Regions from separate parts of the Homo sapiens genome. Here region 2 is linked to region 1. Evidence: promoter capture Hi-C in 16 types of primary human blood cells and fetal thymus (Javierre and others, 2016). All regions are on one chromosome and are shown on one strand. Each heading gives the region's core, a stretch centred on a gene start or on the middle of the fragment in contact. The rest is flanking DNA. Distances are from core to core; before and after follow the strand shown.

Region 1 (3,524 bases), core at 552-3,051:
AAAGTCGCACATATTTCTAATGACTTCTCTGTGACACCCTAGGCTACCTACCCTCAGAAGCCAAATGATCCCTCAGTGACAGGTTGAGGCCTTCCATTAGTTTAAAAAGAAAACAGAACAAAAACACAGGAGCGGGTCTCTCCGCTGTGCGCTCCCAGCCTTTTCTCCAGCCAGGACCCGGTTCGCCGCCGCCCGTCCTATCGGGTCTCCCCGGGCGGGCGCTGGATGTTTAGGAAGGACGCTTTACAAAATCAGCTCTTTCTTCTCGTTTGGACATTGCCGTGCCCCTCTCGCCGTTTAGAGGTTCTCTAAACCTCGCCGTTTAGAGGTTCTCTCCCGGGAGATTTCCAGAGTGCGGAAGCCCGAGTAAAAAGTTTTAGGGGGAAAATCATTACTAATTATTATTTCCAATTAGTTTGTTTCCAGGCGGAAAAGCAGGAGTGTTTGACTGTGGCTTCGGAAGAAATGGATAGCCGTGGTAGTTGAGGCATATAAAGTATCACCCATGGTAGGTGGTTCGAAATAAAGGACTGGAAGACCAATCCCGGGGGTGGAAAAAATAATTCAAAACAAGAGTAGAAAGCTGGCAGCCAGCGAGCCAGGAGAGCCGAGAAACTGTCAGGGAAGAAGTGTCTGGAAATAGTGGAAAGAGCTGAAATTCACCAGGACCTGATATTTACTAGGAGTCCAAATCTACCAGAATTTCAGCCCTGCGGGTAAAGACCGGCAGCTAGCGACCTGCGAAACGAAGGCCGCCGGGCAGTGAAACCCACGCAGAAGCGGACAAGTATGGGTCCCAGAAACTCCCTGGGTTCCGCGCCCGGACTGGGACCCAGAAGAGAACGGGATCCCTCTGCTATCGCCGGCGCCGCCACCGTCCCCTGGAGACCGCAGCCTCTCCAAGGACCCCGAGTTCCGGGCGGCGGAGTCGCGGCGAGGCCAGCCTGGGCGTTCTTACCTTCCAAAGGGAATCCCGTGCGGGGGTAGTTCTGCCCCGGAGCCGGCCGCATCATTCTCGGTACCGTGCCGGGAAGGGCCGCCATTCTTGCGCACGCCGGGGACGAATCCAAAGTCGGCAAAAATCGCTTCCCGTCCGCTCCCTTCACCCCTGCTGCGATCTCTTTCTTTCCGTCTTCTTCGTCTTCTTTTTTTTAACCTCTTCTCCCTCCCCTCCACACACACTCCCTACCCCCACCCCCCACCCCTGGCTGCAGTCAAACGCGTCCAGAAGCTGGGGAGGGGGGTGAGGTGGGGTGGAGGTTGGGGGGAGGGAAGGTGGCGACGACGAGGAAGTTCAAACAAACAAACACTCCAACCCCAAGTCCGCCTCTGCCGGCTGGCCTCGGCCAGAAGTTGTGCGGGCTGATGCGCCTGGCAGAACCCGGAGACCAGGCCCCGCGGCGGAGGGGGGCCGGGGGAACGCGGCCGGAATCGAGGCCGCCAGCCTCAGAGTGGCGAGCGCCGCGCTCTCGCGCTCTGGCGCTCTGGCGCTCGGGGCCAAAGTTTCCGAGCCCGGAGACTGCGGAGTGGATTTCGTTCTCGTATTTATTTATATATTTATTCTCTCGCTCTCGCTCCCTCCCTCTTCTCCACGCCTTCTTTCTCCGGACCACACTCGCTTCTCCCTCCACACCAGCTTTCACAGCCCCGTCCCCTAGGAGACCCGGGGACAGACGGAAGAAGGAGCCTCCTCGGGTTTCAGGGCTGGACGGAGGAGACAGGGGGTGACGGGGTTGGGGAAAGAGAAATGGAAAAGCGAGGGGGCGCGAGTGATCAGCTGGGTAAGTTGTGCAAAAGTGTTCACCGAAGTACGAGGAGGAGGAGGAGGAGGAGGAGGAGGAGGCAGTGAGCGCGATCTGATAGGTTCGGACTTTTCTTTTATTCATGAGGAGGGAAGGGGGCCAGGGCGCAAGGGAGCGGAGGACCAATAACGAAAAGAAATCGCCAACGAATATTTTTTTCCCTCTTTTCTAATCCCCGGCTCGACCTCGTTTTGGGGGAGAATTTGAACCGCCGTGAAAAGAGAGGGAGCCGATCCCGGCGAGTTGGGGGCTGGGGGAGAAGGGGAGGGGGCCAACTTTGTCCCAGTGCCTTCCTTTGATGAATGGGCCGGATCCGCCGAGTCCCCGGCCCCCAGGTCGCCCACGGCTGCTCTCGGAGTCCCGGCTGTATGGGAATGTCTGCCTCGGGTCCGGCGCCTCTCTGGAGTCTCGCCTTTTCTCTGGCCTCCGAGGGCCAGAGTCCGCCCTATTTCTCATCTTCTCCCTCGTCTTACACCCTCTGAAATTCCTCCAGTGAGGCTCCCCGGGAACCGGCCTAGGGTGACTTGAAGGGAGGAATTCTGACCTTTTCTGTGTAATGTCAGAGCCCCGGTGTCCGGTTCTTACTCTACCTTCCTGCCGCTCTGAGAAGCCCCCAGTAACCGTATCTGGTTCCGAGGCTTGGCAAAGTGGGTCTGCCAAGTGCTAGGCACAGGTTTCTTCCTCCCCTTCCAGTTCCGCCCCGTGCAGACGTCTCCAGCCGCCGCCGTCCTCCTCAGGCCCCCAGGCCGGGCCTATAACTCCTTTCCAGCAGGTAGTTGGGTTTACAGGGAGTTGGTGCTGGTGTGAGGATCTGGGGGCCCAAAGAGGTGGGAAATGGGAGGGAGGGAGCCCGTCAAGACTTGATACAGCTCTGAACTCACCAACTCTGAGCTCCTTGCTGGTGGGTTTGAGGGGACGCCCCAACTGAATGATCAGGAGTCAGGGTGGGGTGATCAGAGGTTCCTGAATTCTTCGCTTTCTGAAGCCAGGGTGACCAGTAGCCTCAACCTCGGGACACCGAGTCCTGGGGGCGAAACGCCCTCCCAGCGGGGCAGGACGCCACAACTGCAGGCCTTTTGTCTCCCGGGGGAAAGAGCGTCTCTGGCCCCACGCTGGAGGCAAAATACAATAAAATGAACCCAGCCCTCAATCTCACCCCCTGCCCGCCCTCTCTCGGCAGTGGGGTCAGCCTTGTCTTAGCCTGGGGCGCTCACCGCTGGCTGGCCCCAGGGTGTCCCCATCCCTCCCCTTCGCCTCACCTGTGACCTTTGCCCCTTGCAGCATGTGACAGATCTCCCTCCTCTCCCCACTCTCCTAGCACAAGGGGCTCATCAGATTTTGGGGGGGCCTTCTGGGAATGGGGGCCCTGATGAAAAACTTGTTGAGCTCATACTCTCTCTAACTGAGAAGACAGATGCCAAGTAGCTTTCGAATTGGAAGGGGGACACCGGGGTACTTTGCCTGGCCCAAGTTATGGGGCCCTCCCCCGGGAGAGATTGGGAGATCAAGCTTTAAGCCATAGCATGTGTGCCCAGGGAAGACAGCAACCCCCTTACATCACCAGCCTTGCTGGGGACCTGGCCTGCTTTGACCTCCATAGGTGGATATATATTCTCTGTGTGTATATATACATGTATTTGTATCATATACACTTATGCATACACACGTATAACACACACACATATATATTAGGTATATTGCATATTCATCCATTCATTCGTC
Region 2 (3,524 bases), core at 390-2,889, 1.1 Mb after region 1:
GCACCTGTAATCCCATCTACTCAGGAGGCTGAGGCTGGAGAATTGCTTGAACCCAGGAGGCAGAGGATGCAGTGAGCCAAGACCATTGCACTCCAGCCTGGGCAACAGAGCAAGATGCTGTCTCAAAAAAAAAAAAAAAAAAAAAAAAAGAATTATTTTGAGCTCAAGGTACTTGAGCAGCAGCCAATACAGGAAGAGCTCTTTGCCTCCCCTTTTCTGCCTAAAAGCAGGGCACACATTTCCCTTTGTAAAGGTGACATAAATTTCCATTTGCAAAGGTGTACCCCTCTACCTTACTTTATCTGCATAACAAACCTTACTAAACCACCCTTATCTACCATACATTTCCTAGTCACTTTCCTGAAATTTACTGACCCCTAAGAGTCCAATACTTTTCTTTTGTCTCCTCACTTCTCCACAATTTATCGCCCTTTGTTAAAATGTTACGTAAGCTCCTGGGTCTAACTGCCTCTTTGGATTTTCATTTCTTTTCTATGGAGACCCCTTACAGTAAAAAAATACATATATATAGTAACATTAAATAAAATCTATATGCCTTTTCTCCTATTAATCTGTCTTTTGTCAGTTTAATTCATAGGCTCTATCACAGAACCTAACAGGGTAGAAGAAAAGATATTCCTCCCCTACATGACAAAAGCCAACATTACTAAGCTTTGACCTGGGCCACGCAATATCATGAGCATCCTACCTGCCCTTTCTTGTCAAATCTCCATGCCTTATGACACAGCTACTAGTGTTATCCCTATTCCACAGATGAGAAAACAGATAAGAGAAGGGTCAAGTGAGTTGCCCAAGGCCCAACATAGAAAGAGCCCCAGCAGGGAGCAGGGTACCCCTCTACTCCCAGCGTCTACTCCCAGAACCCAACACAGCCTCTCCCTTTGTGGGCCCTAAATAGATACTTGCCAAATGAGTAAATGAATCACTGAATACATGAATGATATGCACCACAATATTGAGAGAGGCTGTCTTCAGGTGGCAAAATGATTTCCATTTTCTTCTCTCTGTATTTTCTCTGTGTTTTCTTCAGTGGTCATGCGATACATGTATAACTTAAAGTAAAACAAATGCCTGTTTTAAAAGAAATTCAAAGGTTGTGGGTAATGTCTAGGTTCAGGAATATTTTTCTTCAATTTCGGGAGACTGTTATTTTCCTACTTAATTTAACCATTGTTTTTCTAGGGAAATTGAATAAAAAGCCCACATTTCCAAAGCTCACTCCAAGTCTGCCCACTTCAAACAATGAAGAGAGGGGAGTAATGAGAGCTGGCTCCCGCCTTGTATGCTAATGGCCGGGATTCTGGGATGCATACCAATCAGCCAGCGACTAGAACCAGGACTTTTACAGAGAGGAGGGCACTCTGGGGCCAGGCTCTCAAGGAGAAAGAGGGGTTCCAAAACTCAGAAATGCCACCTCATCTTGGGCCCAACATGCCAACATGGGCTGGCACCATCACAAACCACCTGCACTGCCCTGGACTGGGGATGTATCTGCAAGAAGGTGGTGTTGGGGCCTGGTCTGAGACCATCCTCTCAACCAACAGGCCAGTGGGAAGATGAACCCCATGGCAGGGAGCTCAGTGCTGGCTCTAACCAAGAGGTGGGCAGACCCTGGGCCTGTGGCCAAGTGGTCAATTATCCTTCCCCATTTTCCATAGCATATGGGCACTGCTGCTAGGGGCTGTCAAAGGCACAGCCGGGCCAGGCCCTGGGAGGGTTGGCGCTGCTCAAGGAAAGACACAAGAGTGGAGAGGCAGGACTCCGGGGCGAGCAGAATGTGGTGCTTCTAACTCTTGGTTGCTCAACCCTGGGCAAGTTCAATGGAGGCAAAACAGAGATAATGATGCACCCCACCTCTTGGAGTAGCTGAGAACTGAGAAAGCTCCCACGAGCCATGCACTACCAAGGTGCCTGCCACTCTGCAATTATGAGCCATTAGTATTAGCTCTTTCCTGACACCAGGCCTAGGGAGCCCGTGTGGGTACCAGAATTCTATTCTCATCCTTGCCCCTGAGCCACAAGGTAACAAACCCAGCTATGACCAGACTGGGCCTTGCCAACACTGAATTAAAAAAACATACATTAACTCCGAACTAAGAAAGGCAAAGTGTGCTGAGATTCCAGGCATGTGATGAATCTCTCCCTCCCCTCCTCAAAGGGAAAAGGAAAACCGCATAAAGGAGGGGAGCACGGGACTGCAGAAAGATCTCAGGGCCTGCCGGGTTCAAATCCTGCCACTTACAAACACAGTGCCCTTGGATAAGTCTCTGAGACTCAATTTCCTCATCGATAAGATCGGAAAATAGGACGTACTTGCAGGATCGGCATGGAAATTAAATGAATTGATGCATGAAAAATATCTGGCACCTATAGGCATAAAGTCAAAATCAGTTGCCTTTAAGCAAACAAGTTCTCAATTATCTGCCTAAATGAAGGACAGAAGCAGCTTTTCTGGTATCAATTAGCAATGGGGGGAGAACAGGAGACCCCTCTTCCCAATTAAGTTTTGTGCTTGATATTAACATGGATTTTTTTTGAGAATCCACCAGCCACAGATGCAGGGGCTGGAAGACCAGCAAGCTTCAGGGACAGCAGGAAACTACCAAGAAACCTCAAAGATTTTTAGGGAAGCAGGGTGATCCACACAGCACAAGGCCCCTGACAGGTGAGGTTTGTCAGATTTCCTTTGCTGGCACCCAGATGATGCTGTGCCTCCTGACTTGAGGAAGGTTCAATGCTTCCCCTACTCTGTTTCAAGCCCTGCAGACTTTTGATTCACCTGACACCAGAGCCAGACTGAACTCTCAATAATTCATGCCTCTGAGCCTTTGCACATGCCATTCCTTCTGGGTGGAGAAAACACACATTAACTCCCCTGGGTAGAAGGAGCAGCATGTGCAAAGGTTCAGAGGCATGAATTGTTCCCCTCTCCCTACCCCATTCCCCTGCTACACTCCGCACATCCCTCCACTGTATGTAACATGTGCACATGTCCATCTTCCAACCAGAGATCACAGGATGTACAAGAGCAACCGTCTGCCTCTACTCTCTCATGCAGGTCCTGAATCCATATGGACAGGTCATGCCCACTGTTGCCTATGTCAGCTCTAGCCACCCATGTCCTGGACATCACAACTCCACAAGCCCCAAGCTACTTAATTTGTCCACGGTCTGTCCTCAGACACCACTGCTGCTTTTCCTCCCAGATGCCTGAGTCATCCTGAATAGGGTTACTCAATGGCAAAGTCAGCTCTCAATTAACTGAATTTCCTCCTTGTCCCATTTCCTCTCTTCCTGGTGCATGGTAACAACTCACTTGCTGGAATGGAGAGCTCCTGTGATTTGAGGGCAATTTACAACCTCTATCACCAAAGCAGGCCCTGCCCAGCAGCTGCCCCTCAGCAATGAGGACACTAAGATCAGTCCTGGAGCGCCATCACACCAAAATGTAAGTTCAAAGGGAGGGACTGAGTTGCTCATTGCTGGATTCCCAGTGGTGTGCT

The links. Contacts are between HindIII fragments. The CHiCAGO score rates a contact against its expected background, and 5 or more counts as called.
Region 2: a contact is called between a fragment that was not itself captured here and the fragment with the promoter of PAX7 in region 1, in 1 of 17 cell types (endothelial precursors). The highest score is 5.1, in endothelial precursors.

Annotation. Positions count from the first base shown.
Region 1 is chr1:18,629,123-18,632,646 of GRCh38, reverse strand. It overlaps PAX7 (paired box 7), which reads right to left and starts at 1,801. Exons shown (of 9, transcript NM_001135254.2): 1 at 959-1,801. The coding sequence starts at 1,043. RefSeq lists enhancers at 1-470, 1-478 and promoters at 1,018-1,294, 1,018-1,928, 1,332-2,117. The HindIII fragment of the contact is 4,552 bases long and covers 1-3,313 here.
Region 2 is chr1:17,545,272-17,548,795 of GRCh38, reverse strand. All of the region lies in intron 1 of ARHGEF10L (Rho guanine nucleotide exchange factor 10 like), which reads right to left. Among named protein-coding and RNA genes, the nearest start is that of ARHGEF10L, 7.3 kb to the right of the region's middle. RefSeq lists an enhancer at 1,099-1,743. The HindIII fragment of the contact is 1,929 bases long and covers 675-2,603 here.